Linked DNA regions of Homo sapiens: regions 2, 3, 4 and 5 are each linked to region 1. The links are contacts of gene promoters, found by promoter capture Hi-C in blood cells and fetal thymus (Javierre and others, 2016). All regions are on one chromosome and are shown on one strand. Each heading gives the region's core, a stretch centred on a gene start or on the middle of the fragment in contact. The rest is flanking DNA. Distances are from core to core; before and after follow the strand shown. Region 1 holds the start of ACSL6 (acyl-CoA synthetase long chain family member 6). Region 2 overlaps LOC105379173 (a long non-coding RNA gene). Region 3 overlaps RAPGEF6 (Rap guanine nucleotide exchange factor 6). Region 4 overlaps RAPGEF6 (Rap guanine nucleotide exchange factor 6). Region 5 overlaps RAPGEF6 (Rap guanine nucleotide exchange factor 6).

Evidence for each region. The method cuts DNA at HindIII sites, captures the fragments that hold promoters and counts their contacts. A CHiCAGO score of 5 or more calls a contact.
Region 2: a fragment that was not itself captured here is called in contact with the fragment with the promoter of ACSL6 in region 1 in 1 of 17 cell types (endothelial precursors); the score reaches 6.0 in endothelial precursors.
Region 3: a contact is called between a fragment that was not itself captured here and the fragment with the promoter of ACSL6 in region 1, in 5 of 17 cell types (endothelial precursors, M2 macrophages, erythroblasts and 2 more). The highest score is 10.0, in endothelial precursors.
Region 4: a fragment that was not itself captured here is called in contact with the fragment with the promoter of ACSL6 in region 1 in 1 of 17 cell types (naive CD8 T cells); the score reaches 5.0 in naive CD8 T cells.
Region 5: a contact is called between a fragment that was not itself captured here and the fragment with the promoter of ACSL6 in region 1, in 1 of 17 cell types (activated CD4 T cells). The highest score is 5.6, in activated CD4 T cells.

The regions. Positions count from the first base shown.
Region 1 is chr5:132,008,480-132,014,180 of GRCh38, reverse strand. ACSL6 (acyl-CoA synthetase long chain family member 6) reads left to right here and starts at 2,523. Exons shown (of 21, transcript NM_001009185.3): 1 at 2,523-2,676. The coding sequence starts at 2,628. It overlaps LOC124901062 (a long non-coding RNA gene), which reads right to left and starts at 2,725. Exons shown (of 2, transcript XR_007058933.1): 1 at 2,636-2,725. The HindIII fragment of the contact is 2,609 bases long and covers 1,038-3,646 here.
Region 2 is chr5:131,406,713-131,412,413 of GRCh38, reverse strand. LOC105379173 (a long non-coding RNA gene) reads left to right here. Exons shown (of 3, transcript XR_007058929.1): 3 at 4,207-5,701. Among named protein-coding and RNA genes, the nearest start is that of CDC42SE2, 150 kb to the right of the region's middle. RefSeq lists a silencer at 3,514-3,695. The HindIII fragment of the contact is 1,283 bases long and covers 2,964-4,246 here.
Region 3 is chr5:131,443,425-131,449,125 of GRCh38, reverse strand. RAPGEF6 (Rap guanine nucleotide exchange factor 6) reads left to right here. Exons shown (of 28, transcript NM_016340.6): 22 at 2,423-2,643. Among named protein-coding and RNA genes, the nearest start is that of CDC42SE2, 180 kb to the right of the region's middle. The HindIII fragment of the contact is 1,407 bases long and covers 2,868-4,274 here.
Region 4 is chr5:131,464,649-131,470,349 of GRCh38, reverse strand. The region is part of intron 17 of RAPGEF6 (Rap guanine nucleotide exchange factor 6); the gene reads left to right. Among named protein-coding and RNA genes, the nearest start is that of RAPGEF6, 170 kb to the left of the region's middle. The HindIII fragment of the contact is 6,775 bases long and covers 1-5,701 here.
Region 5 is chr5:131,485,328-131,491,028 of GRCh38, reverse strand. It overlaps RAPGEF6 (Rap guanine nucleotide exchange factor 6), which reads left to right. Exons shown (of 28, transcript NM_016340.6): 15 at 1,375-1,483. Among named protein-coding and RNA genes, the nearest start is that of RAPGEF6, 150 kb to the left of the region's middle. The HindIII fragment of the contact is 1,079 bases long and covers 2,645-3,723 here.

The sequences.
Region 1 (5,701 bases), core at 1,274-3,773:
GACAGTTGTTCGCCTTTCCCAACGTCAGTCTTCTGCTCTGTCAAATGGGATAATATCCTCTGCATTCTTTGGGCCAGACCCCAAGCCAGGGCTGCAAATAGATGATTAGGCTCCTGCCTGCCAACCCACTTAGAGATGCTAGTCTGGGAGGAGATATGTGTGAACATGGCTGGCCGCTAAGGTGGCTGGATTTGCTGGCTAAGGACCAAGAGGGATATCCAAGGGCTCCCCAGCCTGGCCTGGGCATTTCTGGGCCCTGGGTTCCATGGATGCCACACCCATGCAGTCTAGGGCCTGAGTCACAGCGTCTACCCATGCCTGCAGATGGTCCACAGATTGAGACTCACAGAGAAGGAAGAAGACCTTGGGAACTCAGGACAGGAAAGAACAAGTCCCATTACTCAGTGGAAGGAACAGGCCTAGAGAGGAGAGAGACCTGGCCATGATCCCACAACCAGGCTAGGGCCTTTCTGTCCCCATCTCTCAGGGGAAGCCAAGCCATGCTCAGAGGAAAACAGAAAAATACTTGGCTAAGCTAGAATCAGTCACAGCTCCAGTACTGGTTTTTGAATTAAAATATTCACAAGTAGCAGAGACATCTGTAGGGAGAGTAACGGGATGCGACATCCTGCTGGAGGCCAAGCTAAATGTGTCCCATGACATCACTCTGAAGAGGAGGCTGCCAGAGCCGCATAGGGCCCGGAGTGCTCCTGCAGCTGAGTGCCGCAGAGGCCTGAGGCTTGCAGCCTGGCTCCTGGCCCCCTGCTCTGTGAAGAAATGCTCTGTTGAACCACTGGCCTATGGGGAAATTACCTGACCACCTCCCTAGACCAATCTGGTCTGGGGAGATATGTTCTTTCTGCCCAGGCTTCTGGTTCCCCTGGGTCTCCTCTTCAGTACTAGCAGATCTCCAGTTACTCTGCTGCCAGTGGGAGTGTATGGGTGGGGTGGGGGGATTCTCAAAGCCATGTTACTTGCTGGGAGGAGTCCTGCCATACAGCCTCTGTCACACCCTCTTGGAGGAGCCCTGCCAAGCTTGAGATCCCAGCAAAGTCCCTGCCAGGCTGTGGCTGAGTTCAAGCTGGAGCAGCTCTCCCAGGAGTCCAGATCCTATGATGGAGAAGGTGTAGGATCCTATTGTAAAGATTGGAAGTGACTCAGAGGCACACATCTGCACACTTGCACCACTACAAGGTGCACACAGGCCTGGGCACACACATGCCATGTACTCGTACTACAGATACAGGCCCCCCCACACACCCAGCTGCTGAGCTGTGAGCCCACATGCACTCATGGCTGATGGTCTCTGGTGGGCCTGAAGAGATCTCATGCTCTTCCACTCTCTGCTTCCTGACTTCTGCTCTCTGGTTTTCTATCCTCTTCTTTCTGGGCTGTGGCTCAGCCAGCTCCTGGCCTGGGAGGGCTGCGTATAGAGAAGGCCCGGCTGCCTGAGCGCTGTCCTCGGTGCTGGAGTCCTGGTGGGCTCTGCATGCTTGAGGAAAACAAGCAAGGGCATTGGGAAGAGGTGATCTTGCTTGGAGGTGCAGATGTTCATGGGGTGCCCACCAGGATGCCTACCCTTATTATTTCAGAAAATGTGCAACTGGGCTTCCTCCTTTCAATGGCAGACACTGCAACAGGTGTCCAAGCCCTCAGCCCAGCAGTGTGGGCATCTGTGGCTGTGTGTGGCTATATGGCCATTTATTGTGGCTATGAGGGGCTTCTTGAGACCTCGTGTGCCACATACAGTTGTGTACGAAGATCATGATTTCCTCATGAGACACCTGTGATTCCATGTGGCTGCCTGTGACCATGTTACTACTGGTGAACACATATGGCAGCCTGTGATCACACTGAGTCTCCTGTGACCTTGCGTAGCCTCAGACCTGAACTCGTGCGTCCCCAGATGATCTGGGCACTATCTGGTCTAGCTGCCTGATTTGTCAGAGCCTAGGTGAACACTTGCCACTCCCTCCCCTCACTGGTTTGCAGAGGTGGCACCCGGAGGCTCCCCATGTCTGCAAACTCGGGTCCTAGGGGGCGTTGGTGTCAGCGGGCAACAGCCCACAGGAGTGTGCACCTCCTAGGACAGGTAACCGCGACCCGGCTGCCATTCGAGCCTGCCCAGCCATAAAACCCAGGCTGCGAGTCGCGCGGGGGCAGGGTCGCGTGTTGATGGGGTGGGTGGCGGCGGGGTGGGCTCAATGTCACGCTCTGGCGCTCGTCGCCCGTGCTCCCCCTTCCAGCCGGTTTCCGCAGAATGCCAGGTACTGACGTTGGAGAGCGGGGCCGGAGAGGGCTGGTTCGCTCTGCGGCCGGGCCCCTCCCCCGCCCGGGAGCTTGGCGGTTCCGACACCGCGGTCAGTGCGGGGCAAGCCCCAGACCCGGCCGGCCAGGCTGCAGGGCAGGGAGTAAGGCTCGGTTGCGAGTGCGCGCCGCGCCCTCCCCCTTGAGCCGTCTCCGCAGCGGCGCGGGGAGGCGGGAGCTGCGGGGCCGGAGGGCGGGGGCTAAAAATACCCGGCAGCGGCGGCGGCGGCGCGGCTACTGCTGGGGCTGCTGGGCTGCGGGGCTGCGGGGCTGCGGGTCGGGGAGGCCGGGCCGGGCCGGGCCGGGCCCCGCTGACCGCCATGCTGACCTTCTTCCTCGTGTCGGGGGGCTCCCTCTGGCTATTCGTAGGTAAGTGCCCGTCCTGTCCGCGTCCCGGACTCCCATCTCCCGCAGGCTATGAGGTCTTCGCCCGAGGTGGAGGTGTTACATCTCCGCGGCCGCCGAGCCCCCATCCCCTGCTGCTGAGCTGTCCCGTCAAGGTCCCCAGGGCCGCCTAAGTACACCCTCCGCCCCCAGTTCTCGCGGGCTCCGGGCCGGGTTTGGGGAGCACCTGGGTCTGCGGAGGGAGATATAGGGCTTGCTCTCTGCGACCCCACCACAAACCCCCGCCGAGTTCTTGCGTCCCCCTTCCCTGATGGCAAGGACCATCCGCGGATCAGATTAGGCCCTGAGCCAAGGCCAGGAACAGACATTGCGTCCTTGTCCATCTCCTGGGACCAGAAACCGAGGGTGTTGGTCCCCGAGGTCCCACAGCAGGTCAGCTATGTAACCCGGACTGACCTAGGCTTCCTGATCCCGGCGAGGGGCTTCCTCACGACCCCTCCCTGCCCGTCCTTCAGCCAGAGTACAAGATTTCTGTAAGGTAGGGTTCACCTGGCTCCTCTGCTCTGCCCAGGGCTGCTGTGTCTCCACTGTTTCCAGACCCCTCCCCTCCACCTCACAGGAGTCAGCTTCACCACTGCACTTCTTAGGCGGCTACAAGGACCCCTGCTCGATCCCGCCTCCGCGCTTACCTCCCTCAACCCCCCATACACCCACACCTGGAGTCTCACCACAGGCCCTTTTATCTGCCAGTTCTACCACCTGCACCGGCTACTTCCCCTCTCTGAGCCTGGGGTCCTCCAGAGTATAATACCACTAAAGGATCTCCACCTCCACCCCAACCCCCATGTGCAGATTCAGCCTGATAATTTGTGTGCAGTGCTTGATCCTTAAATTGGCCTTAAACCTGTCCTAGGCCACAGCAAATGCTCTATGAATGTTAGTGTTTATTATTATCTCACATTCAAACAGCACCATCAGAAGTGGTAATAAAGCTTTTTCTGAGCCAAGGAAGGGGAGGAAGTTGACCCTCTTGAAATCTTTACCTGAGGCTTTGTACGTGTTATTTAATATTCATGGAAAACCCTAGGAGGTCGGTGGCACCATCCCTTTTTTTACTGAGTTCAGAGGTCAATTGACTTGCCTAGTGTCACATGGATATTTGGCAGACTGGGATTCCATTCGAGGTTTTAATTGATCAACCAATGCTAAGTGCTTGGCTGGATCAGGCCTGAACCTGGAGGGTTGGTGGGCCTAGTAATCACTTCCTTCACCCCCACCATTTCCTTAAGTTAGGCCACAGGGACACTTCCCCTGAGCTGGGAGAGTGAGTGAAGCCTCCCTAATCCCCTCAGCTCCCTAAGCTCCTTCTGTCTGCCAGTGTCTGTGACTGGCTGTGCAGGGGCACTCTGGTCCTGAGGCACATCCAGCAGACAAGGGCAGGGCTAGAGCTGGGGTTGGAGGTAAAGGGCAAGGATAATTAAAATAATGGTGATGGTGGTCGTAACAGCCACCATTTAATGCCTGAGTGATGGATGGTCTCAGAGCCTCTCCCCACTGCCAGGACCCCTTTGCCCTACCCTCAGGAGGCCCCACCCAACCATGGGTCCAAGGTCAGCTCTCTGAAGACTTGATCTTCTGTGGCTGCAGGGAGGTGTCTAGGGGCTGCAAGACCACTTGTGACCGGGGTCATCAGCAGCCTGTGAGAAAAAGTCCCTCACCCTGTGGGGTCCTTGTCTGTGAGCAGGGTTAGCTGGCACTGACTCAAAGTGGAGTCCTGTTTCCTTGTGGAGCATTTCCTAAAGTGGTCAGCTCCCTCCTCTAATGGGAAACTGGGGAATCTGCCTCACTGAGAGACTATACAGGGCCTCAGAACCGTCAAGCAGGAGCGATTCTTGGGGCAGGTAGTGGCTGCTTCCACAGAGGCCGAGCTTCCCAATGCAAAAAGCAAGAGGCTGAGGCTGGTCTATGGTGCTTATTGGATAGAATAACCCAGACAATTGCTGGGGCATTTTAAGTTATGTATCCACCCTCCTTGAGACTCCACCTGGCCCCCAGCCTTTCTCTGGTGGCAGAAGAGACTCCTGAGTTAAGAGCTGTAGTTCTGTGAGCACACCTGAGAACATGCTCTGCCTTGTCATCTCCAGGGTCCCATGGTCCCACGGCAGCTGCCAGATCCCTTCCACTCAGCCAGTAACAGGAGGCAATGTCTCTCTTTAGTAGAGTTATGTGCTTTTTGCCACCTAACCTGGCCCTAGGGAGACAAGGTAGGGCCAGGCAAGGGTTTCCCTCAAGGGCCCTCAGGGAGAGATGACATAAAGTCGGGGATGGGGGTGTGGCAATGCACCAGGAGGAGGAGCTGACTGTTGTTTGTGGGAGGTAGCCATCTGTTCTGGGCTGTGTCTGTCCTGTTGCCTGCTGGAGAGGCCAGCAATGAGTCCTGGGCCAGCCCAGATCTCACCTGTGTGTTGAATACTAAACAAGGAGACAAGTAAAATAAGTCCAGCATGAGTCAGATGCTAGGTCTGGCTTGGGGAAGCATGCCCTCAGTGCCATAAACACCTAGAGGACAATGGGAGCAGAGGATCAGAGCTTCTGCCTGCCTGTACAGCACCTTTGTGCAAAGTAGGAAGAAGTCTCACTCTTGGTGGATAACTTTCTAAAAGGGCACACCTTCCTCTAGGCTAAGGCAGCCCCATGCCGCAGGGTCTAATCTGTTCAATCATATACCCAACCATCAGTGACATATGAGTGGGCTTCTGCAGCATTCAGGGGAATTTGTCAGAGATAGGGAGGCCAAGATCCAAGTGGAGGAAGCCAGACTAGCAGAGTTTGTGGAAGAACTGCAATGGGGGATGAGTCTTCAAGGTCTTGTGCCTGAGCAATGTGGGTTGTGGGAGAGGATTCTGGAGAAGGTTTTATTTGGATGGTAGAGGATCCCTCCATTTAGCTGCTGAGTCAAGAGGAAGAGAGTGGAGTCCAGGAGGGTAGTAGGAGGTCGTTATGATGTTATGGATAAGAATAGATGTGGTCCAAGGATGGCTTGAGTCAT
Region 2 (5,701 bases), core at 2,356-4,855, 600 kb after region 1:
GCAACCTCCGCCTCCTGGTTTCAAGTGATTCTCCTGAGCCTCCCGAGTAGCTGGGATTACAGGCATGCACCACCATGCTCGGCTGATTTTTGTATTTTTAGTAGAGACAGGGTTTCTCCATGTTGGCCAGGCTAGTCTTGAACTCCCAACCTCAGGTGATCCGCCCACCTCGGCCTCCCAAAGTGCTGGGATTACAGGCGTGAGCCACCATGCCCAGCCAATTGTTTTAATTTTTAATTTTTTTTTTTTGAGATGGAATCTCGTTCTGTCACCCAGGCTGGAGTGCGGTGGCACGATCTCAGCTCATTGCAACCTCCGCCTCCCACATTCAACTGATTCTTCTGCCTCAGCCTCCCTGAGTAGCTGGAATTACAGGCATGTGCCACCATGCCCAGCTAATTTTTGTATTTTTAGTAGAGACGGGGTTTCACCATGTTGGCCAGGCTGGTCTCGAGCTCCTGACCTCAGGTGATCTGCCCACCTGGGCCTCCCAAAGTGCTGGGATTACAGGTGTGAGCCACTGCACCCAGCCAATTTTTTTAATTTTTAACTTTTGTGGGTACATAGGTATATATATTTATGGGGTACATGAGATGTTTTGATACAGGCATGCAACATGAAATAATCAGAGGGAGAATGGGGCATCCATTCCCTCAAACGTTTATCTTTTATATTACAAGCAATCCAATTACACACTTTTATTTAAAAATGTATATTACTGACTGTAGTTACCCTATTGTGCTGTCAAATAGTAAGTCTTACTCATTCTAACTATGTTTTTGTACCTCTGGTAACCACCCTTCTACTCTCTATGTCCATGAATTCAATTGTTTTGATTTTTAGATCACACACGTGAGAACGTGTGATGTTTGTCTTTCTGTGCCTGACTTATTTCACTTAACGTAATGATCTCCAGTTCCAACCATGTTGTTGCAAATGACACGCAGGATCACATTCTTTTTTATAGCTGAATAGTATTCCATTGTGTATATGTGCCACTCAATTTTTTTTTTTTTTTTTTTTTTGAGGCAGGGTCTCTGTCACCCAGGATGGAATGCAGTGGCGTGGTCTTGGCTCACTGCAACCTCCACCTCCTGGGCTCAAGTGATCCTCCCACCTCAGTCCCCCGAGTAGCTGGGACCACAGGCATGTGCCACTACGCCCAGCTAATTTTTGTATTTTTAGTAGAGACAAGGTTTTTGTCATGTTGCCCAGGCTAGTCTCAAACTCCTGAGCTCAAGCTGTCTGCCTGCCTCAGCCTCCCGAAGTGCTGGGATTACAGGCATGAGCCACCGCGCCTGGCCTGTGCTACGTTTTCTTTATCCATTCATCTGTTGATGGACACTTAGGTTGCTTCCAAATCTTAGCTTTTATGAGCAGTGCTGTAACAAACATGGGAGTGCAGATATCTTTCCTTTGTTTTGGGTATATATACCCAGCAGTAGGATTGTTGGATCCTACTGTTGGATGGTAGCTCTATTTTTAGTTTTTTGAGGAACCTCCAATAGTTCTCCATAGTGGTTGCACTAATTTACATTCCCACCAACATTGTACAAGGGTTGCCTTTCCTCCACATTTTTGGCATTTGTTATTGCCTGTCTTTTGGATATAAGCCATTTTAACTGAGGGTGAGATGATTTCTCATTGTAGTTTTGATTTGTTGCCATTTGTATGTCTTTTGAGAAATTTCTATTCAAACCATTTGCCCATTTTTTTTATTGTATTAGATTTTTTCCTATGGAGTTGTTTGAGCTTCTATATATTCTGGTTATTAATCCCTTGTCAGATGGGTAGTTTGCAAATATTTTCTCCCATTTTGTGGGTTGTGTCTTCACTTTGTTGATTGTTTCCTGATTGTTTCCTTTGCAGTGCAGAAGATTTTTTTTTTTTTTTGAGATGGAGTCTTGCTCTGTTGCCCAGGCTGGAGTGCAGTGGCATGATCTTGGCTCACTGCAAGCTCCACCTCCCAGGTTCACGCCATTCTCCTGCATCAGCCTCCCAAGTAGCTGGGACTACAGGCGCCCGCCACCACACCTGGATAATTTTTTGTATTTTTCAGTAGAGACGGGGTTTCGCCGTGTTAGCCAGGATGGTCTCAATCTCCTGACCTCGTGATCCACCCGCCTCGGCCTCCCAAAGTGCTGGGATTACAGGCGTGAGCCACCGTGCCCGGCCCAGAAGATTTTTAACTTGTTGTGATTCCATTTGTCCATTTTATTTTATTTTATTTTATTGAGACAGAATCTCACTCGGTTGCCAGGCTGGAGTGCAGTGGCGCGATCTCGGCTCACTGCAGGCTCCACCTCCTAGGTTCAAGTGATTCTCCTGCCTCAGCCTCCAGAGTAGCTGGAACTACAGGTGTGCGCCACCATGCCCAGCTAATTTTTGTATTTTTATTAGAGACAAGGTTTCACCATGTTGGCTAGGATGGTTTTGATCTCTTGACCTTGTGATCCACCCACCTCAGCCTCCCAAAGTGTTGGGATTACAGGTGTGAGCCACCACACCCGGCCCCATTTGTCCATTTTTGCTTTGGTTGCCTGTGCTTGTAGGGTGTTGCTCATGAAATTTTTGCCTAGACCAATGTCCTGGAGACTTTCCTCAATGTTTTCTTGTAGTCGTTTCATAGTTTGAGGTCTTAGTTTTAAATCCTTAATCCATTTTGATTTGATTTTTTTATATGGTGAGAGGTGTCTAATTTCATTCTTCTGAATATGGAAATCCAGTTTTCCCAGCACCATTTATTGAAGAGACTGTCTTCAGTGTATGTTCTTGGCACCTTTGTTGAAAATGAATTCACTCTAGGTGCATGGACTTCTTTCTGTGTTCTCTATTCTGTTCCATTGGTCTTTGTCTGTTTTTATGCCAGAACCATGTTCTTTTGGTTACTATACCTCCATAGTATAATTTGAAGTCAGGTAATGTGATTCCTTCTGTTTTGTTCTTTTTGCTTAGGATAAGCTTGGCTGTGCTGAGTCTTTTGTGGTTCCATATAAATTTTAGGATTTTTTTTTTCTATTTCTGTGAAGAATGTCATTGGTATTTTAATAAAGACAAAATAGATGAACCTTGAGAACAAACATGCCAAGTAAAATAAGCCAGTCACTGAAAGACAAATATTGTATGATTCCACATATATATGGATACATGAGAACATGTATATGAATTTATGAGGTACTTAGAGCAGTCAAATTCATAGATAAAGTAGAATGGTGGTTGCCAGGCGTAGGGAGAAATGGGGAGTTATTTAATTAGTATAGTTTTGCAAGATGAAAATGTTCAACAGCAATGCGAATGTGGTTGTACAACATGTGAAAGTACTTAACACTACTGATATCGTACTCTTAAAAATGGTTAAGACTTCTGGGCTTGATGGCTCACACTTGTAATCCTGGTACTTTGGAAGGCCAAGGTGGGTGAATCACTTGAGGCCGAGAGTTCAAGACCAGCCTGGGCAACATGGTGAAATCCTGTCTCTACTGAAAATACAAAACTTGGCTGGGCATGGTGGCGTGCGCCTGTAGTCCCAGCTACTCAGGAGGCTGAGGTATGAGGTTTACTTGAACGTGGGAGGCAGAGGTTGCAGTGAGCCAAGATCACGCTACTGTGCTCTAGCCTGGAAGACAGAGGGAGAATCGGTCTCAAAAAAAAAAAAAAAAAAGACCAGGCATGATGGCTTATGCCTATAATCCCAGCACTTTGGGAGGCTGAGGCAAGAGAATTGCTTGAGCCCAGGAGTTGAAGACCCGCCTGGCAACAGAGCAAGACTCCTGTCTATACAAATAAAAACTTTTAAAAATTAACTGAGCATGGTGATGGGCACCTGTAGTCCCAGCTACTTGGTTGGCTGAAGTGGGAGAATCGCTTGAGCCCTGGAGTTAGAGGCTGCAGTAAGCTATGATCCCACCACTGCATGCCAGCCAGGGCAACAGAGTCTCAAAAAGGAAAAACAATGGTTAACATGGTAAATTTTATGTTGTGTATATTTTACTGCAGTTAAAAAAATAAAGATCTCCTGGTTCTTTGGCTTTAGCTCAAAAAGGCTTTGGATCTCTGTAAAATTCATGTTAGTATGTAATTTGATTCACAATGATGCAGAATCAGTTAGACTTCTGTATGTTTTACTTTGTCCCTTTTGATCATTGTAACACCTCTTCGTCTGTTTTATACATTGCTGCATGAGTTATTTTCTTTCTTCTCTATCAGTCTATCCACAAGATCTCTGAAGAGATCAGGTGTCCAAGCTTTGGCCCAGCAAACACATTCTAGAAACTTCTTGCCAGAGAAGCAGCCATTCTCAGCTCAGGTAAGGTTGTTCAAAGCCAACAGCAGGTGGGAAAATAGAAGGGAAACATTATGGAAATCAAGTGTACATTAAGAATTGCCTTACAGTAGACTTGGACACACAGCTGAAAAATGAAAGTCAGACTCAATTGCCCGATGTACTTTTCTCTTTTCACATTTACATGCGTACTTGGGATAAACAATAATTGAGACCACCTGTGCCCAACACGCTATGCCAGCAAAAATTGTTGCCTTTAGTGAGATCTTGTTAAAAAGCAGGTGTGTGAGAGCCTGACCATAATAAGAATTGGAGACCCTAAAAGAGACCATGTTAAAAGCTCAGATTTTTCAGCAACTACTCAAGACCTCAAGACTGGGCTGTTTTTGTTCCTCAGGCAGCAGGAATTCTGCATGGCTCTATAAACCATAACACACGGGGTCCTTGTTTGCTTGAGGGCACTAAGATGATGACTGGTGTTTTATACAGAGCATACTTGCTGTGCATCGCATATAGCAGGGACTTAATAGTGGATGAGCAGATCATGAATGGCTTGAGAAAAGCCATTTGATAATTTCAACTGAAACCTCAGACACAAATCTTGATGTAGCATCGCATGTGGAAAACACCACGTGCCAAACCCTGTGACATGGACATTGGACTTTCCTAGCCTGCCAGGCGCTAAGGAAGGGGACAACCCATTGCAGCCAAGCCAGGAAGTCAATGAGAGGCAAACACAGCATGGTCTAGGATTAAACAAACCTCTTAGTGATCTCCTTGACTCAGAATCCAGAATGCAGGGCAGTTCTTTGACCTGCCTTACATTGGCACACTCGTCTTTCTGCTTGGCAGTTTGTGAACTGAGTAGAGAGTTTTCTCTCTTGTCTGCCAGTCACCTCTTGCAGCTCTCTGACATAATGAATAATCTGAAGGCAGGCAGGCACTTCAGTCTAGCTGAAGGCTGCTCTTGTGAAAGTTCCTCAGGCCCTTGGTGTTTCATAAAATGGGGGATTTGTAAGGACTAGTGAAAGAGAAAATCAGCAACATAGGCTTCTGATGAAACAGGTGGTAAAAATGCTCACATAATTACCATCTCCATTTTCCTTCTTAAGAAAAAAACACAAAGTAGAACTTCCAGAATAGGTTCAATTATCGGTTTATTCAGTAGACTTTTTTTTTTTTTTTTTTTTGAGACGGAGTCTCGCACTGTCACCCAGGCTGGAGTGCAGTGGCACAATCTTTGCTCACTGCAAACTCTGCCTCCCGGGTTCAAGCGATTCTCCCGCCTCAGCCGCCTGACCAGCTGGGACTACAGGCACCCGCCACCATGCCCAGCTAATTTTTGTATTTTTAGTAGAGACGAGGTTTCACCATGTTGGCCAGGATGGTCTTGATCTCCTGACCTCGTGATCCACCCGC
Region 3 (5,701 bases), core at 2,322-4,821, 570 kb after region 1:
AGAAGAATTTTGTTATTTTAAGACTTGTAGTGAACCATGAAGTTAGAAGCTTTTATTACATGTAAGAAGAATTTTTTGTGAGCCACCTTCTTTATTCGAGTCTTGCCTCATTTGTGGTCTTATTTTCTGTTAATGCTTGGTGAACTTGACTTTCCTTCTATTTTCTTTCTCCCTTCTCTGTGTGTTTCCCATGTGTTTTCTTCTGGATCGCAAATTTATGTCTTGGTCTCTTTTGGCTCTTCTCACTGAAAATAGAAATTGATACCTGGCATTACTATTATAAAGAAGAATACTTGGACAATATCTTTTAGTGGGCATTGGGTGTGTTTGAATGACTTATGTTAACATGTTTCACGTTCATTCAGCTTTAGGGTTACACTGTATGATGCTTACAAACATTAGGTATATTTATTTTATATCAGCAATTTTCTGTTTTCAAAGTAGTTTAGAAAACATTTTATCGACGTTTATCACAGTGTTTTTATTTGTTAGAATTTTGTGTCTCCTAGATTTGTCAACACCTACTTTTTTATATTAACTAAGATAAAAATCATTAAATATTTGTGTTAAAATTTGCTCCTAAATAGCTGCAACTTGATTTTACTGCATTTCTTTGAATTCAAGACAACGTCAATTGTTGGACATATTGTTATTTTATCTACTACTAAGGAAAATCACTGCAGTATCCTGTTACCACTGAGAATTTCTACTTTATGCTTATTGAAGGAGCTCTTATGGACTTGGCTATGGATTTTTATCACAGTGTGAAAACTGAATTTTTAAAAATCAATATTTTTATTCACATAAAAAGGAAAATATAAGCAAAGTAAATTGGTTTAGGTTTTCCTAAAATTTCTTTATATTCAAAATATGAATCTTCTGAAACGTTTTCTTTTAGAGTCATTAGCTTCTGGATTTTGTTTTCCAGAACCCTCCTTCCCCATACAGTATTGCCCTCTGTGCCATCCAGTGTGTTGGTAATGCACCATTTCTTTGAAAAACCACAAAAGAACCAAAAGCTGCTGGTGCTGGGCTCTCAGGCTAGCTTTGGAAATAATTAGAATTAGTTTTCTCTTGTCACTTGCTTTGGGAATGTTCTTGAACTTGTCAGATTTACTACTTCCTTATAATCATTTGGTCCCTGGAGGTTAAAAGACTAATTCACTAATGGCTTTGGATTTTCTTTCAAGCCATTCTGCAAGTTTTGAGGTCTCTGCAGATGTAAATAATGTCTTGTCATAGTTTCTGCCTGGCCAATAGCAATTGAAAGTTGCCATTCAGTGTAAGATATACCCCTATTGGAAAGATCTTAAAATGTGAAAGAAAAAAATGCCATAACACTTTTTCAACTATATTTCACTTAATTTACAATGAAAGCATTAGGATTTTAGTGTCTATTTTAAAGTAGATATATGAGCACTGTGGTCTTTGTATTTAGAATACTTTTATATAAAAATGGAGCTTAATTTAGAAAATCCATAGATAACCTTATTATTTTGGAATGGCAAAATAAAATACCATCTAAATAAAAATTATATAAGAATTTTGTATTTGTTAGCCTTGTTAGAAAGGACAAACATCATTGCAGTTGCTGTTTTCCATTGGTTCTAGATGTGCAGTCGTTGTAGGATGTTTGCCAAAAAGAGTAGAGTCGGGTGAAGCTGTAGTTTGTTTGAATTGTGGTTATTTCCACCCAGCTTGCAATTCTGTCACATTCACAGGCATTACAAAAGTGATGTCCCAGATCCTCAGTTCTAGAACCCAAATATTGCCTAACCATTCCATATTTGAGGGAAGCATTGAGTTTTTACTGCATTCTGATGTCCGACTGTATTGAATTGCATATAAATGCTGTAAATTTTCAGCTAACGTGTTATTGGTAGTTCTGTTTGAGTTTTGGCCAAAATAATGGTTACTAGTAAAATTGGTTAACATGCTCACAGTGGGCCTGCTATAATGGTAGTGGCAATAGCATGTCCAAAGCAGAACAACAAGCAAAACTACTTTAGAACCCTCATTGCTAAAGAACCCTGGTTCAGAGATTCGGCTGAGGATGGACTTGTCGTGGTCCAGACTCTTGCCATATCTTCAAAGCGTGGGTGGCCTCCAGGACCAGAGGAATGCTTTTTCTTGTTACTGTTGTGCCATAGGTTGCATAGGCACAAACACAGGCCTGATGGAATATGCCACTCAGGGGGCCATTGTTATCCTATTCTTTTGAATTCTGTACTTTGCCAAATCCTGTTCTTAATTCAGAACGTCACCATATGTGCCAAATTACTTTGCATTAATGCTCTTCATCTTTTAACTCATTTACATCAGCATGCAATAGCATTAACAGAACAAAATCTTTTAATCTTCAATCTGCTATGCTTAGTTCTCATCTCTATAGCCCCTTATTGTGATTTTCATCTTCTTATAGGTCACTGAGTCAAGGAAGCACAAATTCAAACATGCTGGATGTTCAGGGAGGTGCTCACAAAAAAAGGGCACGCCGCAGCTCTCTGCTTAATGCCAAGAAGCTATATGAGGATGCCCAAATGGCAAGGAAGGTGAAGCAGTATCTTTCCAGTCTCGATGTAGAGACAGATGAGGAGAAGTTCCAGATGATGTCATTACAGTGGGAGCCTGCATATGGTACCTGTGAGTACAAGTTTTCATTTATGTGACGCTAAAGAGCACAACAAAATAAAAACTTATTTCTCTAGAATTATACCTAAGTCCCAAGAAAATTAACTTTCACTCACAAAAGATTGCTGGCATACCTTAAGCATCATGTGATCCAATTAATCACAGACTGAATCCCATCCATTCCTGATGGCTACACTATCCAAAAAATAGAGGGATAAGTAGATCTTTAAAAAGCTTTTTAATTCTTTTAAAAACTGGATCATTATAGAGGAGGCTTTCTGTTTGAGAACATTTTTATATTCATCCCTAAAGAGTAAACATAAGTGGAATTTTTACCTCTTTTTATTTCATGGATAATATTTACCAACTAGAAAATATAAGAAATTTGATTAAAACACCAGTGATAATAGGTAGCTTACAGGTGCCAGTAGTAAGGTAAAACAAAAAAAAATCAGACACATTCCAATATTAGTAATCTCTAGAAAATGTGATGGAAAAGATCGTGTTCTCAATATGGATTTTTTTTAATTAAATACAAGCAAGAGAATGCATATATATTTGGATCAAGGAAATTATGAATTCTAAGAGCAGAAATCAAAGATAATGAAATATATACTGTTATAACAAAATAATTGTACATCTTAAATTGTAGGTTAAGGCCAGGCGTGGTGGGTCACACCTAGAAACCTAGGCAGGAGGATCACTTGAGGCCAGCCTTGGCAACTCAAAGAGACCCCATCTCTACAAAAAAAAATTAAAATTATCCAAGTGGTAGTGCTAGCAACTTGGGAGGCTGAGGCAGGCAGGTCACTTGAGCCCAAGAGTTTGAAGCTGCAGTGAGCTAGGACCATGCCAGTGCTCTCCACCCTGGGCAACAAAGTGAGACTCAGTCTCTCAAAAATAAATACGCGCGCACACACAGACACACGCAGTGGGTTAAATTTACAAAGTGAGACTCAGTCTCTAAAAAATAAATACACACACACACACACACACACACAGAGAGTGAGTTAAATTTGCCCATAAAAATTGAAATAGAATTTTATTTCAAAGTTCCTAGTTGACAAGGGGTAGTAGTCATCATGGATTGACCCTAAGATTGATAAATGATATGGTATTTGCATAGTAATTTTTTAAAGTATGTCAAAAGAAAGAATAGAAAACAGGAAGTGGAAATAGAACCAAATACTGATTTTTAAAAATTCAGTTTTGACAATTTTTAAATAAGGGTAAGGAGCCTTTTAATAAGTGCTATAATCAAAACAATATCTTGAATGCTTCTGCATATAAGAAAAGATTTGGAGTATGATGGAAAGAATACCTACGAAAGGATAGAGGCAGAATTTGAGTTTCATTTATTACATTTGAGTAAGGTTTTCTTCATCTTTAGTCCCTGTTTTCTCAAATGTAAAACTTGGGCAAGGGTTGGGAGTACATTTTATTTCTGTGATTCTTTGTACGTCGAAGTTATTAAATTTGGAAAAAGACATTTTTAAAAGCTAACAGTTATTGAGAGCTTTCTACATTCTGGCTGCCACATGTTAAATGGTACATGTTAAAGGTAAAAGCTGAAAGAGTATATAGAACCTTTAACATTTATTCATGCTTTAAAGTTCAAAGCCATGTACATATTTATTAAAGCTTTCTGGCCCTGCTTTGAGTCATCATCAAAGTTATTTTTTCCCAGGTAATTTGATGTAGACTTAATCATCTTATGGTTATGAAACACAGTTTATATACACCCTCATGGCTTCCTCTTCTTACACCCACCCCAGACTTGTGTCTGTCTTTTCTCATAGCACTAAATGATGTCCCATGCTACATATTTAATAAAATGAGAAAATCTTTAGGCCTTTCTTTCTTAAACTGGATTTGAACATTTAGTTAAATGCATGTTCCTTTAATTTGGTTTGAGCATCTTTATAATGCATAATTGATTTTTAAATGTTTAAATAGTCACTATCCGAAGCCCAAACAATAGTTGATTTCTGAGCATTATAGAATTTGATTCTTCCCAATTAATTAGAATATATGTGGTTTTTGTCATTCATCTGTAAACTTATTTTTGAAGTAGTCTCAGGTTTTTTTCTTTGTACTGTAGCAATTATTAAAATAAGATGTCATTGATTAGCATTTACCAATCAATGAGAGAAGGATGAAAGTATTTCATGGCTCTAACCAAAGATGATAACCTCTTGGATTCAATTAGTTGGTGAGCCATTGCAATTTTCTCTTGGGGTCCCTGTATTTGAACTTTCTAAGACATTCTCTGATTCTTATCACCCCAAATATTGTCTAGTCTGTCTTAATAAAAGCATAATAGCTATTATAGCTGTGTTGAGACAGTTTAGACATCTATTTTTGCTTTTATCTTGATGTTTAAAACAAATACTTCATGAAGTACTGAGGCTGCACCTGCATTGAAACCACCCTGGATAACCTAAGGATTAAAAGTACTCCCTGATGGAAGAATGTCTTCCCCTTGGACTATAGTATTGGTTTTATATGAAGGAGGCAGCTTTTATAAGTAAGGGTTCTCAGTTTTTTATTCTCACATTCATATTCAGAAAACCTATGGATTTATAAAAGCACTGTCTCTGGTTTTCTTGTGTTACAGCTGTTGAGATAATTTCACTTATTTATTCAACAAATACCCATTAAGCATCTGTTTTCAGTCAGTTACTGGCACATAAGGATGTAATAACGAACAAAATGCATAGTCCTTACTCTCAAGTAGGTTAAAGCCTAATGAAAGGAACAGAGAAGATAAAGCCTAATGAGAGTATAGGACTGGTGAGAGGAAAGGTAAGCAAGTCAAGTCAAGGGAGCAGGCTGATGCTAAATCATGCAGGGTCATATAGGCCTTGTTTTAAGGATTTGGGTCTTCATTCTAAAAGCAGGGGCAAGTTAAGGTTTGTGCAGAAGGAGAAGGGAAATGATATGATCAAATACTCATTTTGGCAGAGTCACTCTTCTATTCTATGAAGAATGCCTTGAAGGCATGCTAGAATTGATACAGTGAGAAAAGTATTTCAGTAGTAAAGGTGAGAGAATGTTAACTTGACCCTCA
Region 4 (5,701 bases), core at 1,684-4,183, 540 kb after region 1:
AGGTGTGTTACTTAACTTGATTTCAAGTTGATTACATAATTCTCTCCTTGAGAACATGTTTAAAGGACTAAAGATAAAGATGCCTTTTTAAAATCTGTTCAGAGAACATCTGATATGTCTCAGTCTGCAACATGTGCTTATACCAGTAATGTGAACACATATATGATAGGTATTTAACTTATATTTTTAAACCCCCAAATGTGTAATTTTGTGAAAGGCTTTTTATCTAGTGATGGATATTATTTATATTTGGATTGAAAAAAACATCAATTCCCAGTTAATTCCAAATTCAGCTTCTTATGTAATTTATACAACACAAAAATTTAAATGAGCCATGTACATCACATATGTATATTATAGGACATGTGTAACAGCCAAGTTTGATTAATGTTTATTGGTCTTGAGCTTACCTATATTTATCCTTCATTTTCAAAGTTATTACTAGATCAAAATGAAAGTGGGGGCAAAGCTACAGAACTGTAAGTTTGTTTTTGATTGCTTACTTTGATTTTGCTTTATTTTTGCTGCATACAGCTGTTGGTTTTTATTGTAAGTATCTTAAAGACTGTAGTATTCTATTGCCCTTGTTTGTATGTATTATTTTGTTATTTTTTAAAAGTCCAATGATACAGAATTGAATGAAGTAGTAAGCACAACTTTTCTTTCCACTTAGAAGGTAGCCAGTATTAACTGGCATGTGTCTTTTTAGTCATTTTTTTGAATATATATATGTTTTTAAGTTTGGATGGAATCAGTATACATGCTATTCTGTAACTTCTGAAATGTTCTTTGGGATTTCTGACTCAATACAAAATGAGTCCTAAAAAAAATTAGGAGTGTGGCTAAGAGAAATTTGAAAAGGAATTTTTTTCTATATCTGCATGTAGAACTTACAGCTTACTTCTTTTCACTTAATAGCCCAAACCCTTAATTGATTTATTTCATATAGTAAACTTAATTTTTTCTTCATTGAAAATTTTTTATTATTAGTTTTTAATTATAAAGGAACACAGTCATAGCTTTAAAAAAATTAAACTGCCAGAATAAGATAGAATATAAAAGTTTCCACTCCTCAGAATTTAGTTATTATTTACTTGTATATCCTTCCAGAAATTTCATTGCACATAAAATGTGTCTGCTGTTGCTTTCACCCCAAATGAGATGTTTTACTTTTCTTCCACTTAACTGTTTCACTTTAGCAATATACCTTTGAATACTTTTCTGTTTCAAGGTGTGTTGTTCTACCACAAATTTTTAAACAGCTAACAGAATTTTTTTAAGCAGTCCCCATTAGTAGACATTTACAGTATTGCCTAATCTTTGTGTTCACGTATCTTTACCTGTTTTATGTATGCATTATTATATTTTGAGTTTTGAAAAACTATTTTGTGAGAATTTGTTTTCTCATTATATAAGTGCCTAAAAAATATGTGTTTTGCCATTTGACCTGCAAAACTTAAAATGTTTACTATCTGGCTCTTTGCAGAACAATTTTTTCAATCCTTAATATACCACTACCCTTTGTTTTTTTGTGTGGCGCTTTTTGCTGTATGAATTCTCTTCCTTACTCAATGTCTTGTCTTTCGTCGAGCTCGTGTTTACTCACTTGAATGTAAGTAAATTCCCTGAGAGTGGAGGCTTAATCTGTCTCACTTAGCACTGTAGCTTCATCACCTGGAACCCTGTTGACACATAACAGGCACTTCATAAATATTTATTCAACAATTAACAATTTAAAGCAGAATGAAAAGTCAGTCTTTTTTTTTAAAGATCATCTTAAATACCTAAAAGTTCTCCCATTTTTAGTGTAATCTCAGGGTCAGTACATACATCCTTCAAGTATTCATTTTTTAATTTTACCGCTGTAAGATTTATAAATTAGCTCTCTAGAAACTTCATCTCTGATTGAAAGTCTAGATATCAGGTTTCTATTTAATTTATTTACCTATTACATAAGATTTCTACATATGAAATACAAACCTTGATCCTCCAAGATTTTTTTTTTTTTTTTTTTTTTTGAGATGGAGTCTCGCTTTGTCACCCAGGCTGGAGTGCAGTGGCGCGATCTTGGCTCACTGCAAGCTACGCCTCCCGGGTTCATGCCATTCTCCTGCCTCAGCCTCCCGAGTAGCTGGGATTATAGGTGCCCGCCACCACGCCCAGCTAATTTTTTTGTATTTTTTTTTAGTAGAGATGGGGTTTCACGGTGTTAGCCAGGATGGTCTCATTCTCCTGACCTCGTGATCCGCCCACCTCGGCCTCCCAAAGTGCTGGAATTACTGGCATAAGCCACTGCGCCCGACCCCAAGATTTTTTTTTTTGACAGAGCCTCACTCTGTCACCCAGGCTGGACTGCAGTAGTATGATCTCGGCTCACTGCAGCCTCTACTTCCTGGGCCCAAGTGATCCTCCCACCTCAAACTCCCGAGTAGCTGGGCCTATAGGCACACACCACCACGCCCAGATAATATTTGTAATTTTTGTGGAGGCGGGCTTCTCCATGTTCCCCAGGCTGGTTTTGATCTCCTGGGCTCAAGTGGTCTGCCCACCTCAGCCCCCTAAAGTGCTAGAATTATAAGCATGAACTACCGCCCCTGGCTTCCAAGATTCTTTTTAAATGTCTGTTTTGCCTTTAAAATTGTACTGTATTTTTGTCTGCATTTTAGATTTGTGCCTAAAATTTGAAATGATTGGATCATTTTTTCCCTTTTGATTCAACTTTATTCGAACATATTGACCATTCATCTAAGCGATTAACATTTGAGTGTCTGCTGCATGCCAAATATTGTGCTTGGCATGTATGTGGTTTTCCTACTAACAAGAAACATGTTTGTAAAGAATAGTATGTAATATATACGTAATAATTCTAAAATAGAGGTTTACACTGTCATTAATATTAACGCAGAGAAAGATTTTCCTCTGATGGCTCTCCATTGCTTTTCCAAGTTGACATTTGTTACCTTGGCAGATTCATCAGAGTTTGGATTAAGGGATACCCTTTAGATAATCCCATTTATGAATCTGTTCTAAAGGCACCCATGTGTGATACCTGAATCAATCTTATGTGATCATATAACAATTTGTCCTTCACATGGACAAATCACTTTAACAACGTATGACTTTGTAACACTATGCAGCAAGATATACAATTGTGTGCTCCTTCCCAGAAGATGTTACAGTATATTGGCAGCAAGGGAAGAGAACATGAAATGTGTACAAATTCCCACCCTGTCTTTGTGAATAAATTTCTCTGAAGAAAGTAATAAAAGGTATCAGAACATCTCCCCATTCCCTCAAGGTCAGTCAGTACCACTGGCTAAGGCTCAGCCCCCAAAGATCTAGTAAAATGATTCAATTCTGGAGCCCAGGACAGCTAGGACCTACTTTTATGAAGAGGGTAGCAACAGTACAGGTAATAACAGTATATTGTTGGTTCCTTTTTTATGGACTTAAAAAGATAGTGGAAACCCATTTGTTCAGTATATTTCTCTTGGCAAATTGAAATTTCCATTTGTTTGCAATAATCTTCTAGCACAGGGTAGAGAGGTATATTAGTCCGTTTTCATGCTGCTGATAAAGACATACCCAAGACTGGACAATTTACAAAGGAAAGAGGTTTAATGCACTCGCAGTTCCACGTGGCTGGGGAAGCCTCACAATCATGGCAGAAAGCAAGGAGGAGCAAGTCACATCTTGGATGACAGCAGGCAAAGAGAGTTTGTGCAGGGGAACTCCTCTGTTTAAAACCATCAGATCTCGTGAGACTTGTTCACTATTGTGAGAACAGCATGAGAAAGACTCACCCCCATGATTCAGTTACCTCCCACTGGCTCCCTCCCATGACATGTGGGAATTGTGGGAGTTACAATTCAAGATGAGATTTGGTTGGGGACACAGCCAAACCTTTCAAGAAGTATGTCTGATTTTGATGGATCTTGAAACAGTCTGACCTTAAGTCTTGTAGGTTTAAAAACCTGATGATGTCAGCAGCCCACTAAGTATTGGCTCATCAGAATGAAATCTGAACAAGATGCATTTGATGACTCAGATTTCTTAATACATTGAGGAAAGAGAGTTTGATGCATCCTTCTTACAGAAGGAACCAGAGTAGATGAAGTATTCTACTTTCAACTTGAGAGGACCCAGAACATTCAACATATGTTGGCTAAGACTCCTTGTCCCTGGAATTATATTCATGTATATTCAGTTGAATCTTTCAGTCCTCAGAGCAAGTCTTTTTTTTTTTTTTTTTTTGGTCCTCAGTCTCAAGAGGACCAAAAAATTTATTTTATGAAAATATTTCCTGCCATATCTGTATCTGTTCCATTTCTCCCTTTTAACCAGGGATTATACCTCAGGACATTTTGAGATAAATTTGTAATTTGTTTTGTTTTGTTTTGTTTTCCTCTAAAGGCTAACAGTGTCCATAATGCTAAGAAGGTGATGCTGGACAAACAGTATAATTACTTGAGCCCCCAAAATCTTCCATCCTGCCCCCACTGCAGTCATCACACACATACAAAAAAGCCACAGTAATATATATTCCCTAATTCTTTTTTTCTTTTTTGAGACTGGGTCTTACTCTGTTGCCCAGAGTGGAGTGCAGTGGCATGATCTCAGCTCACTGCAGCTTCAACCTCCCAGGCTCAAGTGATGCTCCCACTTCCACCTCCCGAGTAGCTGGAACTACAAGAATGTGCCACCACACCCAGCTAATTTTTAAAAATTTTTTGTAGAGATGGGGTCTTGCTATATATCCAGGCTGGTCTCGAACTCCTGGGCTCAAGTGATCTTCCAGCCTTGGCCTCCCAAAGTCCTGGGATTACAGGTGTGAGTCATACCCAGCCTGTATTCCTAATTTTTTTAAAAAGGAAACTTTTGCAACAGTAATTTATTGTCATAGGGAAAATTTTTAGCATTTGTTCATGCTATAAAGTCACTTTTCACTTAAATTTAATTATATTAAATATTAGCTTATCATGTTGAACATTGGTCCAGAGTTCTATAATGACAAAAAGAAATAAGATAGAACAAGGGGGGGTGGAATATTATTATTTACATGTGCTTATCATATAAACATTGTCTCAAATTAGAATTTTTCTACTAATAGCAGAAATCACAAGGGCAAAGACTAAGATTTCACCAGGTGAACATTTAAAATGTTCTTGTGTTACAAATAAATAAAATATGGAAACTAACATTTTCCACTTCATAGTTGGACTAAGTGTTGTTATCTACTACAATACAGCAGGAAAAAAACATAAGGGATACCAAAAAATATTTTTAAAAAGACATAATGGTTCATTAAACCATTATCAGTTACTGAGTCTTACCAGTAACCAAAGAAATGAAAAAATAATGATATTTTTTTGGAGGGAGGAAAAGAATAGGGCTTATGAAATGGGAAAGCAAAACAAAACATTAATATACAATTTTTGTAAGGATGTGACCAAATTTGTTCCCTTACACTCTAGGATTATAAAATATTATAACGTCTCTGGAGAACAGTTTGGCAGTATATTTCAAAAACCTTAAAAGTATGCGTGCCTTCTAATTCAGCAATTCTGTTTTTGAGAATTTTCACGGAGGAAGTAGATTGCCTGCAGAGGCTTACTTACTTTTGACAGGGGGTAACGGGGCATATCATAATGTCATTTATAATAATAGAAAGTGGTAAGCAATCTAAATGTCATTAGGGGTT
Region 5 (5,701 bases), core at 1,935-4,434, 520 kb after region 1:
ATCATGCTTTTACTTCTTCCTTCAATCTTCCCAACTACTGTTGAAATGATCTGAGATTTTAGATCTACATTATTGTTACTTTTTAACATTATGTATCTTCTGTTTCAAGAAGGCTTTTGATGTTTGAGTTAAGTTTCATAAGCTTTTAAACAAGCATTTAGACATTTACACCTGCTTAACTGATTTCATTGATCACTTTTATTTCATTTGCACTGTATATCCCCATTATTTCAACTCATTTCACAGTTGTCTTTGGTACTTCTTTTAGTACTTTTTTAAGGAACAGATGGGTGATACAGTATTATATGTTCTTGCCTTCCTGAAGATACTTGTGTTCAATAGAGCGTAACATTTTTTTCCCACAGTGACTTTTCCCTCAGAATACTAAAGTCACAGAAAGTTATCACATCAACTTAATGTTGCCCAAGAGAAGTCCAAACTCTTTGCGCTTCTTTTGTAGGTACCTTTGGGTTATCTTCCCACAATGATGTTTATAGATTCTTTATTCTTTCTTCTTGGAACAAAGAAATTTCATTGGGATATGTTTTTAAAAATAGATCTCTTTTTATTATTTTTGCATGGTACTAGATGAGACATTTTAGTGCATAGATGCAAGTCTTTTTTCAACTCTGGGAATTTTACTTCTATGGAATTTTTTTTTCTTTCCCTAATATTTTTTCACTCTTTTTCTTATCCTTTAGAAATTTTTATGTTGATCCCCTAGATCTGCTCTCTGTTCTGACTAGTTTTTGCTCATTATATCTTTTTATCCTTTTCCCTTAGAATCAGTACTTCTTGAAATAAACTGCTTCTATGATTCTGAGGTATAGCCAAATTGGGGAAGCCCTCTTGTGAAGGGTCAGCAGTGTTTACCTGGAAGAAGAACCCATTTCAGTTGTGCTTCTTGCTGTTTGGCTGCCTGATTCAATCAGTGGCAGAAAATCATATTAAATATATTTAGAGTACTCCCTTTAAAAGAATTACCTCTCTTTGAAATTCAGTAAATTTACATTGAGAATATTTGACAAATTTGTATATACATTTGCAGGCAATAATTTTTATGAGCTGATCTGCCATGATTAAATGTTTTCCTTTGTAAACCATCTGGTGTGGGTATTTTTTAAATTTCCTCAGTATGATCCCAGAGGGCATTAACTGTCAAAAAAAAAAAAGTTTATAGTAAAGAATTTGGAAAATACAACAATATAGAGAAAAAGAAAAACAGTAGTCCAGCTTCTCACAGAGATAACTGTTGTTCACATAGGAGTACATTTTATTCAAGTTTCATTTTATTTATTCACTATTAAACTTTTAAGGTTGTAGGAGTAACTAATACTGTTCTGTATTAATTTGTATTTTTTAAATACTTTTAAGATTATGGAAGTAAATGGACAAAACTTTGAGAATATTACATTTATGAAAGCCGTTGAAATTTTGAGGAATAATACTCATCTTGCACTTACTGTGAAGACCAACATTTTTGGTGAGTTTTGTTGTAAAAATTGCCTGAACTCTTTCTTCTTAATTTGGTAATAGAAAAGTCATTACAGTGGAAGAAAAGATAGTAAAATATAAACATGTTTTTGTCTAAGCTCTTCAGCTAGTTTCAGAATCTTTAGTTTTGAACTATTATGTATTCTAGAATTTTCATTTTTCATTATGTTTTTAATTATTTTGATAGTAAGTTTTAAAATAGGTGTACAGCTACCTTCAGTTATTTATGAAATTCCTATGGAGCGTGTATTATGTACTCTGCTGGAGGGATACTGAATGAAATATAGAATGTCCGGAATAAAACTAAGAAGTCATAATCAGGCATTTTTTCCCCCAGCTAGTGTGCAAATTAGTCTACTTCTAATCTTTAAGCCAGCTTTCTGAAGTAATATGAATGCCAGATTAGCTGTTTTATGGAAATAAACTGAGTAAAGCATTGACTTAAGTACTTAGTGAATTACAGATTTCTAATAAGAGCATACTCTACCTTTGTGTGGAAAAATGATTACAGTGCCTCTGTTGTGTTTTTATCATGTTTATATTTAAATAAAACCAGTGACTAAGCTCATACTTTTAACCAAATCTACTGTGTGTTTTTTTAAACTTTTAGGAAAGATTTAATGTGATTTGATTGCCTTAGACACTTTAGGATTTTTCAGAAATTCTGAAAAGAGTAACAGTAAAAATCATACAGCAATTGAAATAACAAAGAAACTTTAAGAGTCCTTATGAAGTAGGGAGGAAAACAAATCTCTCTAGGTTTTTTAGGTTACAATTTGAGAAGTAAGAGTTGGCTTTAAAAGCTATGCCTACGGAAGGGAAGTGTGAGTTTTATTTTTTTCACTTTGGCTTTTTATATTGTGCTTAGTCATAATGAAAAATGAAACGTGGGGTTTTTCCTCTTTTTGAGTCCCTTTGACTGAATTACATCATGTTAAATCTGGTAAACTGTCAATTGGCAATTTAGTATTATATTACTTTAGCATAGAATAAGTAAGTAAGCCTTCAGAATTTTTTGATTTCCTGGAGTTTCGACTAATATCTAGAAATGCCAACTTTTAGGTTAAATGAAAGAGATTTCCAGTTTCGAAAAATAAGAAAGCAGGACTTGCTCTCTTACTTTGAGCAAATTATTTAGTCTTTCCAAGCTTCAGTTTCTCTAGCACTATTTCCTAGGTTTCTTCTAAGTATCTAATACCTTTAAACCTTTTGTACCCGTCACATAAAGATTACTAACTGGTATTAAATATTCTGAATAAAAATACAGAGATAGTGTGAACCCCCATGAACTCTGGGACACAGAAAAGTAGATCTGAAGGATGCAAAAGACAGAAGCCATACCCTCAGAACCCTTTGAGTAGTGGGAAAACAGTTGGCCAACAGAACCCTAGGTTGGATATAGCAGAGGGTAGAAGTTACATGGAGCTGCAAAGGGGGAACATAGCAGTCACCTCTTTCTTCCTTACCCTAGGAGGAAAGCAAAACACCAAGGAGAAAGCTAAATACCTCATGTTTAGATTTAGAAAATGCACCCAGAGAAGAAAACAGCTGGCAATCTCAGTTTACTCTCTTTCTATTCTGGAATTTTAATTTATCTATTAAATTACAAAGGAATATTTGTAAAATATTTGTAGAAATGGAGCATTTTACTCTAGATGTGGTGATGCCCCTAATAAAGCCCTAATAACTCTGGCATTACCATGAAATAGAGTTGAGCAGTTAGGTTGTCCTGTATCAAACTTACAGTGAGGACACCTACAAAAAGGAAACCTGTGACCAGAAGACATTGGTTCAGTGATACTGAGAGGTGAAGCCAGCTGGACTTCCTGGGTCAAGTAGGGACTCGGAGAACATTTCTGTCTAGCTAGAGATTGTAAACGCACCAATCAGCACTCTGTAAAAACACACCAATCAGCGCTCTGGGTCTAGGTAAAGGATTGTAAATGCACCAATCAGCACTCTGTGTCTAGCTAAAGGATTGTAAATGCACAATCAGCACTCTGTAAAAACGCACCAATCAGTGCTCTGTGTCTAGCTAAAGGATTGTAAATGCACCAATCAGCACTCTGTAAAATGGACCAATTAGCACTCTGTAAAATGGACCAATCAAGCACTCTGTAAAATGGACCAATCAGCAGGATGTGGGCAGGGACAAATAAGGGAATAAAAGCTGGCCACCCCAGCCAGCAGGGGCAAGCTGCCAGGGTCCCCTTCCACCCTCTGGAAGCTTTGTTCTTTCATTCTTCACAATAAATCTTGCTGCTGCTCACTCTTTGGGTCTGCACCACCTTTAAGAGCTGTAACACTCGCCGCGAAGGTCCGCGGCTTCATTCTTGAAGTCAGCAAGACCATGAACCCACCGGAAGGAAGAAACTCCGGACACATCTGAAGGAACAAACTCCAGACACACCATCTTTAAGAGCTGTAACACTCAACCGTGAAGGTCTGCATCTTCATTCTTGAAGTCAGCGAGACCAGGAACCCACCGGAAGGAACCAACTCTGGACACAATACTAGAACAAACCATTCTCAGTCCTTTTATTACTTAAAACTGACGATCAGGGATCACCAAGCATAAGGAGAATCAGGATCATTGAGAGGGTGTGGTAGAGACCTAATGAGTGATCTTATAGATTCTGGAGAAAATATTTAAAGGAGAGAAGAAAAACATTTCTAGGACGCTGCACAGAGCAATTTAAAAATTTATCCCTTGAGAGGCAGAGCTTGCAGTGAGCCGAGATTGCGCCACTGCACTCCCGCCTGGGGGACAGAGCGAGACTCTATCTCAAAAAAAAAAAAAAAAAAAAATTTATCCCTTGAAACAAGAACAGGATATTAGGAAAGAATAAACAACAATCATTGAGAAAGAAGTAACTCTTACAGACAAAAACATTTGTTTGAAAGAATAGATAATAAAGTTGAGAAAAATCTCCCATACTATGGAACAAAAAGACAAAGTAAAATTAAGCTCTATTCCAGGATATCTAAAAGAAAATGTAAGGAAGAAGATGTTTAGGAAATAATAGCAGAGAATATCCCAGAGTAAAAGAAGGATGTGACTCTCGTATTTCAAAGGCCTCACTATGAGCTGAGGAAAATGTATTAAACAAAACTTGTGTCAACTTTCTACTTCCAGTATTGACTGAAGACAACTTAAAAGAGCTAGACTAAATATGAAAAACTATAAACAAACATAACAATCCAAAAAGATAGTGAAAAACTCTGGATGTGTCAAAGCCTTTTCCCACTCCTGGGACCATATCCCAAAGTGATGTCTCTTTTTCCAGGGCCATTTTCCCATCCGTAGAATAAAACTGAGAGGAGCTCCTTGATAAACTTACAGGTTTGTAGTTTAGTGCCCACCAAAGGATAAAATAGTAGCATTACAACCTTTGTTAGGATTGAGACTTTGAAAACCTCTCTCTGAAGTGGATGTGCGCTGTACCTAACTGACCATCTAGGTGACCAAGAAAAACTTACAGTTTTGGCCCTGGACTTAGATTATAGGTGCCTGACAAAAGAAAATAAATATGTTCTTTAGAGGATACTAACAGCAACTTGTTATTTCTAAAAATAATTTTTTAAAAACAGAGTCAAGCAAAGATTATGAGGCACTCTTAAAAGTCAGTATGAGCCAGAACCAACAGAAACAGAAGCACAGTTGCTCCAGAATATCAGACACAGATTTTAAGTTTGCTATCTTTTATGTCCATGAAGATAAAAATCAAATTAAGTGTTCCATTTCCAGATAAGATGGAGTAAACACACACCACCCTTCATCTCTCACTGAACTTAATAGTAAACCTGGACAGAATCATGACCCACTTAGCTGAGAACTCTGAAAAGCAAATAGCAACAGGCAATTCGCAGAAGAATACCATAATTCAAAGTACCACTACCAGCAATGAATTCACTATTATTTTAATTCTAGTATGCCCTAGGTTGGACTCAAGGCAACCTAAAACCTGGATGTGAGTACTGTGGTACAGACAGAGATCCAGGAGAAGCCTGGCTTGAGGAATGAGAAAAGGGAACTCCTACTAATAGCAGTTGTCCTGTGGAGAAAAGTGACACTGCTTTTAGGCTTCATTGAATTCTAGTTTTCATGCAAGTGCTCACAGCCATCTAAAGTTCTCTCTCTCCTCGAAGAGTCCCTCTACCTGACCCACACCTCATGTTTAGATTTAGCAAATGCACCCAGAGAAGA